Linked DNA regions of Homo sapiens: region 2 is linked to region 1. The links are contacts of gene promoters, found by promoter capture Hi-C in blood cells and fetal thymus (Javierre and others, 2016). All regions are on one chromosome and are shown on one strand. The core of a region is centred on a gene start or on the middle of the fragment in contact, and the rest is flanking DNA. Distances in the headings are between cores, read along the strand shown. Region 1 holds the start of CLNK (cytokine dependent hematopoietic cell linker). Region 2 overlaps LOC107986178 (a long non-coding RNA gene).

The links. Contacts are between HindIII fragments. The CHiCAGO score rates a contact against its expected background, and 5 or more counts as called.
Region 2: a fragment that was not itself captured here is called in contact with the fragment with the promoter of CLNK in region 1 in 1 of 17 cell types (M1 macrophages); the score reaches 5.3 in M1 macrophages.

Annotation. Positions count from the first base shown.
Region 1 is chr4:10,682,484-10,687,552 of GRCh38, forward strand. It overlaps CLNK (cytokine dependent hematopoietic cell linker), which reads right to left and starts at 2,285. Exons shown (of 19, transcript NM_052964.4): 1 at 2,185-2,285. The HindIII fragment of the contact is 1,243 bases long and covers 1,209-2,451 here.
Region 2 is chr4:11,726,417-11,732,069 of GRCh38, forward strand. All of the region lies in intron 2 of LOC107986178 (a long non-coding RNA gene), which reads left to right. Among named protein-coding and RNA genes, the nearest start is that of LINC02360, 40 kb to the right of the region's middle. The HindIII fragment of the contact is 1,463 bases long and covers 1,562-3,024 here.

The DNA of each region.
Region 1 (5,069 bases), core at 1,035-3,534:
TTCCTGGCTATCTCTTCTGTGTCAGACACTGTGTGCACATTTGCTCTCACTCTCGAAGCAACACACAAAATGTATTCTTCCTCCCAGTTTCAAATTACACAACTCCAACAACAGCTAACTAAAGATCAGAGAGGTTAAGCTACTTACCTAAAGACGAACAGTAAAGTCACACACTAGATTCATGTCCATTTTTGACAATCTCAAAGCCCTGTTTCTTTCCATTTCACCATGTTGTCCTTCCTCATCTTTTCTAAGCCCCAGTTTCACCTTTTAAATGCTCTAATACGTGCTCTGCCTACTTCATTAAGCTGTTAAGATCATTCAAGAAGAAAATATGTATTCAAAGGCCTACATTACATAGGGCTATACAACTGTGGAATATTACCATTCTCTAATGAGATTATTAAAATACAATATTTGTAAACTTATGTGTATTAATCAATTCTATGTTGATTGTGGTCATGTTTTAAGAATAAAATCAGAACTGATTTGGAGTGAGGAAAGGAAAGTAATGGAGAAAGAAGTCAACACTTACTGAATACTTGCTAAGTGTTAAGAATGCACCATATTTCACGTAATATAAATATTATATTATTGAGGCTAAATAATTGTCAATACAAGTCTTATGAGATCTTACTTTATTAAAAAGGGGGAGGAAATGAGGATCATATATGAAACAACATCCCTGGTCCAAGTGGCAGAGTCAGGATCCTCACCATTTTGATCAGGCGTCAAATCCTACAGTCTTTCTAAGACAGCACCTGACTCATGGCAAAGTGATCGAGAAACAGAATCCCCTGGTGTTCAGGCCAGAGCTGGCCAGATGGTACAGAAGATTATAAGCACTGGCTTTCAAATGGTCTTGCCTATACAGTCATCTGAGAGGGCTTGTTGGGAATAACAAAGAAATACTACCATTTAGATGGTTGGTGTCAGAGACCACCCAGGAGTGAGTTTAGGGATGAGCTCTGTGAAACTGCAAACTAACACTGTTCACCATTCCAATCAGTCAGCCAGGAAAATCAGTTTCCTTCTGAATTCTGTTACTGACATTAGTGACTGAACAACCTTGCACATATTACTTAGAGAACTCAAGTTCTTCACCTGTAAACCAGGGAAAGTAATAGCCAGCTCTCTAGGTCAGCAGGAGCTGAAGGTAAGTAAATGCCAGTTGCCATTCCTACTTCTCTAGGGCATACTGTATCTTAAGCTTCTTAGAGGATTTCTGAAGCGCTGTCATTTCTCTGGTAGGCCTTCAATTAACCAGCTCTACCATCGTCTTCTTGATATTTGAAATGATTATTCCTGGTGGTTTGGGAGGCCCCTGGAAATCCAAAGAACAACACTATTGAGGAGCTGCGCCACAGTATAGACAGAGACAGCCAGAGAAATAGCCATGTAGGTAATAGACAAGTAATACTCATAACAGAGAAGCCAAATGAGTAACACTGGTGTAAAGTAATAAAAACAGTATTGATAAAAAGTTCAGGCATATCGACACCTTTTAAAATCAAAGTATCCATATTTTGATGATAGTTATTTTCTTTTCTGTCTCATTCCAGTTTGTTTGCTTTATCCAATAAAAGCCTGGTAGAGATGACTCCCGGCACTTTTCAAGAGTAAGAATTTAACCCCAACTTTAACCTCACTTTTGAGCTCCTTACTCTTGTGAGTGGAAGGATGTCTGCGTGATTCCAAAGTCTAAGTCTCCTCTACACCAAAGCAGAAAGAAAATCGTATTACTTTAGAAAATGTTAAAAATATATTTCCACAGGGCTCCAGGAGTTAACTTATACTTTGAATGACCTACTTTGAATGGAGGCTTTCTTTCTAGAGGGCTTACTTAATGAAGGTCAGCCAGGAAAGCCAGCCATGGGGCCTGGTCTTTAGATTTCAGTTGCAAACAGTCGGGGAGTCCAAGCTCCAGGAAAAGAAGATTGAAAACATTTAGTCTTTTAATTTTCTGTGGGTAGGTATCCTGATTCTTTCTCCCAAAAGAATGAAAGGATCTTTAACAATTGAGTTAAGGGCTTTCTTCTTGCTCCTTTGATGCTATATATAAGGCCCAGACTTCCACTTTAGAAACACATTTTTACTTGCTGCTCAGGTCTTTCCTGATGATCATTTATGACAAGGAGATGACCATGAGATCCTCACTCAGAAGAACTGGCCTAATGAGTTTACCTGAACAGCGTGGAGAGCACCAAGGGATCTAGGCTGAGGTGTCCGTCTCCTGTGAGGAGGGGCGGCAGTGCAGAGACCTTGGGGCACTGGAAATTAGTAAGGCGGTGGGTTGAATTCTTCTCGATGCTAAGCAGTGCCCTTCAGCAGAAAACCTCCTGATAGGTCCGTTTTAGACTTGGTTTCCTGTGAAATGCAGCCACAGACCTGAGAGGTCTGACCTGAGGGCTGGCAGGACTTCCTCTTCTTAGGCTGGAGTGCAATACGTGAAGCTTTCAGAGGCTGAAATCTTCCAATGCAAAGGGTGTTTTTAAAGACACACGGTGTCCTTATGTGGCACTTCATAGTTACCAGAACACAATAAAAGGAACTGCTGGGCAACACTCAAGCATGGAAGGTGGGTTTTGCGAGTCTCACTTTATATGAATAGTGGACATTAACTATCATCTTTTGGCTTAATTTTGCAATGGCTTCCTGAGACCATCCCAGACACATGGACCAGGTGTTAAGGAAAGAACCTGGGAACTAAAGGAGAAATGCCTGCCTCTTATTCTTGCTGTATTAATTATTAGCTATAGGATCTTGGGCACTTTGAAGTTTATTTCTCAAGTAGTTTGAGTGATAATAATATTTGTATTTTAGAAACTTTTTTAAAAAATGAGGGATAATTGAGGATTATATTTCCTTCATTGAGGAAATGATATTTCCTCAATTGTGATGGAAGGATAATATTTATATTTTAGAAGTATTTCAATAAATAAACAAAATATTGTAAATAAAGGCATGCAGTAATGTTTGGGCACATATCAGTTGCTTAATACATTTTCTTTCGGCCTTAATCTTGGTCCATTTAAGCTGATCTTGCCGAGTGCCTGTTTCCTCTTCTGGAGACTTGACATTCTAGTTTTATATAAATTGATGTTGAATTCCATAACAAACTCCAACATTATTTACAATAAATTCAAAGGTAGAAGTTTATATTTTCTTGGGTAAATAACTCTGGTTTTGACTTAACAGACACCCCAAGGAAAACATGAAAATAAGCACTCTTTGAATGCTAATTGTGAGTCAGTTACATTGCTAAGCAACTTGCAAGCATTATCCTCCTTAATCTTACTAATAACCATGTAAGGAACATATGTAAAATCCCATTTTGTAATTGTGAAAACTGAAGACTAGGGAGACTCGAGTAGTTTAACCACTTTATTAATTAGCTTTTGCTGCATTAGGGGCTTAAAGCAGTAACCACTTTATTTAGTTCATAATTGTGTGTGTCACTTGCTCACTTCTTTTGGTCTGGACCCATATTAATTTTCTGGGGTTTTCATAACAAAGGACTGAGCCCTGAGTGGCTAACAAAACAGAAGGTCAAATTGTATTGTCTCACAGTCTGGCCTCTGGAAGTCTGAGATCAAGGAGTCGGCAAGGTTGGATCCTCCTGAGAGCCATGAGGAGAAGATCTGTTCCAGGCCTTTATCCCCGGCTTGTGGGTGTCTTTGTATCCTTGTTTTTGTGTTTACATGGCATTCTCCCTGTGTCTTTGTCCAAATTTCCCCTTCTTATCAGGAGAGGAGTCACAGTGAATGATGGCTCACCCTAATTACCCAATTTTAACTTGATTACCTCTTTAAAGACCCAGTCTCCATGTCAGAAGGCATTCCAAGGTAGTGGGGGGTTAGGACTTTAACAAATGAATTTTAGCTGGGACGTATTCGACCCATAACAAGACCTGATCATCTGGTCTGTGCTAGTGGGTTGAGAGGCAGTTGGATGATCTAAGATTATCACACTCATGAATCTGTTTGTTGGCAATCATGTCAGCCAGGTGCCTCTGTTCTCCTCTGCATAGCTTCCTGTTATCTAGTGGCCAGCTAGGCCCATGTACACGGTGGGTTTGGGGCACTAAGGGCAGTGGGAGAGGGGAAACTCCAGCCTCCAGCCTTTTCCAGGCCTCTGCTTGCATCCTAGATGCCATGGTCCCATTGGCCAAAGCAAGTCACATGGCCAAGTTCAGAGTAAATGTGGGAGAAGACTATTCAAGGGGTGAATGAAGAAAAGTGAATTATTGTGGTCTTCATTGGCAAATAATCTAAAAATGCATGTTCACATCCAATTGGTGGCTAGACTGCAATAAGAACCCAAGTCTAATGATATGAATATTTCTGCTTTTTACTCATGAAGAATTGAAGACAATTTGGTTTAATGAGAAAGCTGATAATAGTGTAGGTGATATTTAAAGCTTTTTTTCTTGGAATATCATTCATTAATTTATTATCTATTGAATATATACCATGCATCAGCAGCTCTATTAGGTGCTGAAAAATACAATTAGATAAGAGATATACCTACTCCTTTGATGGAGCTTACAGCCTAGAAGAGGTGAAAATAAATGAATGGACTTCAGATATATATAAAACTACAATTTGTGGTAAATGCAATGAATAGTGCCTGATCAGACATGTATTGATTTAACAAATAGATATTTACATCCTCTACCTACTACTATCAGCCACTGGGCAAGCTGTGGGGATATAGAGGTGAAAAAAAAAAAAAACTTGTCCCTACCTTCATGGAGTTTCGAATCTAATATAATAGAGAGGTATTGAACAAGAAATCAACCATCAAGATGATGTATTCAGAGACAGGAACAAAGAGGGCTCTGAAACAAATAGGAGGCGAATGTGTTCTACTCTGTGAATTCAGACCAGATTTCCTCTGGGGAAGTGACAAGAGATCTGAGGTGTTGACAATAGGTAGAAATTTGCTGGAGCAGAAATGGAGAAAAAAGAGGAGGGAAGAGGAGAGAAGGAAGGAAGGAAGAAACAAAAGAAGGCTTCTAAGAAAGAAAGAAGCAGGAAAGGGAAGAGGAGGGAGGGGAGAAGGGAAGG
Region 2 (5,653 bases), core at 1,043-3,542, 1.0 Mb after region 1:
AGATCTTATTTAATAGTGAAACCAAAATAAAAAACAGGAAAATAATATCCATCCATTAAGAGGGATATTGCTTTCCCCATTGTGTTGGAGCACCTGTCCAGTACAATAAGAAAACAAACAAGCAAACAAATAGTATGTGTAGTTTTTGCAATAACATAAAGATGATAAAGGTTAGGAATAAGCTAAGGGATAGATTTATAAGAACTTAATAAAAAGTATAAAGCATTGCTGAAATAAATTTAAAAACTCAAATAAATGCAGAAATATACCATATTCACAGTTTTGAAGATTGAATATTGTTCCTGGGTTGGTTCTTTTCAGAATGATAAATAGATTTTGTACAACACTCATAAAATTACAGTAGAGTTTTGCCACAGTGATTTGAAAGTCATATGTTCATTGTAAAAGTCATGTATTAATTTCAAAAGTTATAATTGCCAAAACTGTTTTAAAAAGGAAAAAAATTGAATTTAATATAAAGCTTCAGTGATCAAGGGAGTGCGAATTTTGCATAAAGATAAACAAATAATAGATTAACGTAACAGATTATAGTTTCTACAAATATACCTATAATTATCAAGTTAATTCTCAACAAAAGGCAACAAACCAATTCAATGAAGAAAATTAACATTTTAAATAAGTTATGTAGAATCAAATTGATAGCCCTAGGGAAAAACTATTCTCAACCGTTGGTTCATCCTAGGTGCAAGAGTAAATTTGAATGGATCTGATGCATTAATTTTAAGGTTAAAATTATGGTTTCTAGAGGAAAACAGGAAAGACATCTTTGTGATCGAGACAAAGTAGAAAAAGACTTTTTTGAAATCACAGTTCCATAAAACATTAAAAAGTGATGAATTGAACTTTATAAAAATTAAATTCCACAGTTCATCAAATGAATCTTTATAAAATTAAAATGTATCATTAGCACAGATATCTGAGAAAGGACTTTTTCCAGAAAAAAAGAACTCCTGCAATTTAAAAAAAGGGGAATGATACCTAAAGCCAATAAGCACATTACATTTTTTAATGTGCTCAGCATTATTAGTCAAAAGGGAAATACAAATTCAAATCAAATTATGATATCATACAAATCCACAGGAATAGCTAAAGCCACTACACCAAAATGCTGATGAGAATGTGGAGCTATAAAAACTGTTTTGTTTTTTTTTTTGAGAATGTAAAACATTATAAGCATTTTGCAGTACTCTGGTAGTTTCTTACAAAGGTAAATATTCAGTGATCAAACTATTCCACTACTAGTTATTTAAACAAGAGAAACCAAAACAAATACCACAATAAGACTTTTATGAGAATGTTCAGAGCAGCTTTATTCATAATATAAAAATAAAACTAAAAATAATTCAAATATCTATTAACAAGACAATGAATAAATAAAGGATGATATATTTATAAAATGAAATACCATTCAGGAATATCAATATTTGTATGAATGAAATGACATGGGTGAATCTTAAAAACGTGATGTTGAGCTAATACATTCTGACCAAAACAGTACGTATTGTAAGATTTCATTTATTTGAAATTCTATTATAGGCAAAGCTTAATTTATGGAGATAGAAATCAGAGTAGCAGTTGCCCCTGGGTGGGAGTTTGAAGCCAGACTGCCTTGGGATGTGGCAGAGAGTCCAGGCTTTCCGAGATGTTGCAAATGTTCTCTTCTGACTGGGGAGAGGTTATATGAGTATATGCATATGTTAAAACATATTGCAATGTAAATTTAAATTCTGTGTATTCCACTCTATGTAACTATATTGGTGTACTTACTCTGTCATAAGAGAATACCATAGACTGAGTGGGTTAAACAACAGAAATTTATTTTCTCACGGTTCTGGAAGTCAGAAGTTCAAGAACAAGGTGCCTTCAGAGTTGGTGTCTGATGAGGCCACTCTGTCTGACCTTTGCTGTGTGCACACTAGGGAGAGAGAGAGCTCTAGTATCTCTTCCTCTTCTTCTAAGAACACCAGTTCTACTCAGTTAGGGACCTACTTTTATGACCTCATTTTACCTCACCTTCTTAAAGACTGTACCTACAAAAATCAAAAAAGAAAAAGAAAAAAACTTTATCTTCAAAAAAGTCACACAGAGAGCTAGAGGTTCAACATATGAATTTAGGAGAGACACAATTTAGTTCATGGCAGTAACTTATAGACTTAAAATGGAAAAAAAAGGCAGCGAAAAGATACATTTATGTTCTAAGGGAAGTTTCATTTCTAGTTATATTAAAACTAAACATTATTATTATTATTTATTACTATTATTTGAGACAGTGTCTCACACTGTCGCCCAGGCTGAAGTACAGTAGTGCGATCTAGGCTCACTGCAGCCTCCTCCTCCTGGGTTCAAGCAATTCTCCCACATCAAGTTCCCTAGTGGCTGGGACTATAAGAATGCACCACCACACCTAGCTAATTTTTGTACTTTTTGGTAGAGACAGGATTTCACCATGTTAGCCAGGCTGGTCTCAAATTTCTGACCTTAGGTGATCCACCTGCCTTGGCCTCCCAAAGTGCTGGGATTACACACGTGAGCCTGGCCCTAAATATTAAAAATTAAAATACACTTTATTTCTAGTGATATAAAAATTAAAGTGATAAAACATCCAGGGTCACATATTTATCAAGTATAGTAACAAATGCTCTGAAGAATCAGTCAAAGGAAGCCGATTAAGTAGCTTGAATTCAACACAATTGAGCTGTTTCCACTATGCTGGTCTTACTGGCAATGACACTTTAGTTAAGAATGGAGTGAGGTAGATTACCTTTAAGTGAGGCTTTGATTTTGCCAACTTAATACAGAGCCGCATCTACGACCATAAATTATACCTCTCATTAATCCATTTGTCCTTCTGACATATTAGAATGATTTTTCAAGATTCCACATCAATCACACACCTTCATGTATTACATATGTGACAAATTACTATTTGATAAAATCTAATTTAACTCCATACAGTCAATGTTCCATAGGAAATAAGCTCTTGAAGGCTGGGCAAAATTGAGAAGCTTGAAATATTATTATATGTTTTTTTCCTTCTACTCCATGGGGATCATTGTGTAAAGACCCATAGGAAATGCTTTCCCAGATGTCCTCCCAGGAATATCTCCTGTACTACAACTGGAAAAAGTAATATTCTTTCTTCTATCTTTGCATTAAACATATATTGAGCATGTTTTCTCTTTCTAAGCACTGCCAGTAGGTGCTGGTCATAAGAAATAAACACAAGTAATTTTAGCCACGAGAACACTCACACACCCATCATTCCATGAGATGTGGTGGTTTCCAGCAGAGACAAGATTGTGAAACTGTGTCTTGGGCTAGTGAGGAAAATAGATGTGTGAACTTTGACTGTTTGAGTAAACTGCAGTTTACTTGGTAGAGGTAGAGTGAACTTTGACTGTTTGAGTAAACTGTAGTTTACTTGGTAGAGGTAGAGTCAGAAATGGCAAGAAAATCCCAGGTGCAAGGAATAGCAGTGAAGCTTTTAAGACTTAAAAAGAGCATGGAGCATTTCTAGAATTTGGTGGCTCTGTGTGCCTTTGTGGAAGACAAGATGGGAAAGGTAGGGAGAAGACAGAATATGTTGAACAGTGTTGAATATCATGCTTTCGTTCTTCTAGACTTTAGTGAGCTTAAGAGAATTTTTAAACTGAATTGTATCATTAGATTTTTCTCTCAGAAAGGCTGGAGTCCCAACTATAAGGAGGGTGGGGGGAAGGGATCTAGCTATAAAACCACTGTCATTGGGAAATTGGATTACATAGAGGCCAGCACTAAGGTTGTTTGCAATTATTTTATTGATTGCTTTAATACTTAGTAGACCACAAGGAATCAGCTAATGAGATAGTTACAAGGAGTATACAGAGAACACATTGACATCTCGATAATCTAAGAGCATATAACCCATTAGTGGAGGCAGACAGGTGAATGAGTACTTAAAAATATCAGGGGCATCTTGACATTTTTTCACGATCACTTTATTTCCAATGTCTTCGGTGAGCAAAATAATACCAACTTCTCACCTTTATTAGGCATTTTGTAATTTCCAAAGCATGTCCACATACATTTTTTCACTTGAGCTTCACAAAAGCCTCTGTAATGGAGGAAGTTATCCTAGGAAGAAACTGGGGCTTATACAGAGAAAATGATTTGCATAACAGCCTAAGAGTAGTCAGGAACAGAGTTGAAGCCAGAATGTAGTATTTATTCCAGTGCACTGCACAGCTTCTCTGTGAACTCTAGTTCAGTATTTACAATCATCTTCTTTATTTGTTTTGAATCTTCAAATCCTGATTGTTTACCCAGCAGGTCCATTGGCCCTCTCTGACCTCTCCTTTCCCATGGGTGTGCTGGTGACTGTCAGTCTTCTAGAGCTATACTGCTGTCCAGCCCTGCTCCATATTACTTTGTGTCTTCCCGATTCCTGTTTGTATCATCAGCCTCTGACCCACAACTTGAGCATCCCAAATCCTTGGGCCTATCTTGTGCTCCATTTGACTGTCTCCTTCTTACACCTGGACTTGACCTACTTGAAGAAAATTTTCAAGGGGTAGAGAATTTCTCCTCGAGATCAATATTTTGTTTTAACTCTAAGCCTAGGTACTCGGATTCAATCAGGTCTTCTTCTTTTGTTAATGGATCTAAAGTGCAATTGTATTATTTATAATCCTTGGCCATGCAATGTATCATTGGTCCATGGATTACACTTTTTCAAATTTTCAAAAAGTGATTACAATTAATTTGAAATAATGTCATAAACATCCATGAATCCACAGTTAAGGAAGAACATTAACAATAACTGTATAGGGTCCTCTTGCATTTATTTTTCTTATGTAACCCCATCTCAAGTAACCACCATCCAAAATTCTCTGTGCATCATTTCCTTGTTTTCCTATTTGTGTGTGGCATTTCAAGCAAGCACTTGTTTGTTAATAGTTGTGTTCAACTTTATTTTTAAAAAGGATTTACAGCATACATAATATTTTTCAAAGTATTTTTAAAATTTGAATATATTTTTGTAATTCATCTATACTGTTCATTATTATTATACCACATTTATTTTTAGGGCCATAATAGTAAATATACAACAGTTTATTCATCTCATATCCTCTCTATTGGCATTAGGTTGTTTATAGGTTTTTGTTAGTTTCAAAGATTTTGTGCATGATAGTGGACACATATCTGGTGAACCTGTTTAAAAGGTTCCCTTGGTTCTACATGTAGAAGTAAAATATGTACTTTTCTCAGTATTTGAATATACAAGTTTACAATACTCAGCTATTTTCTTAAGAGATTCAGCCAAGTTTACATATCAACCAGTAATAGATAAGATATGCTATAAATTTGTATCTTTCTAGCATCTGATATTGTCAGACTTTTGAAATTTCACTAACCAACTGACTGTAAAATATAGTAGCACATCATGGTCTTAAACTGCATCTTTCTCAACACTAATGGAGCTGGATATACCCTCATATTCTACAAACCATACATATTTTTATATTTTATGACAAACTTATTCAAACTGTCCATATTTCCCTGGGGTTTGTGTTTTTCTTTTAAACTTGTATAAGTTCTTTATATAGTCTTTGTTGTGTTTATTAAATATGCTTTCTCTCAGCTTCTAGCTGAT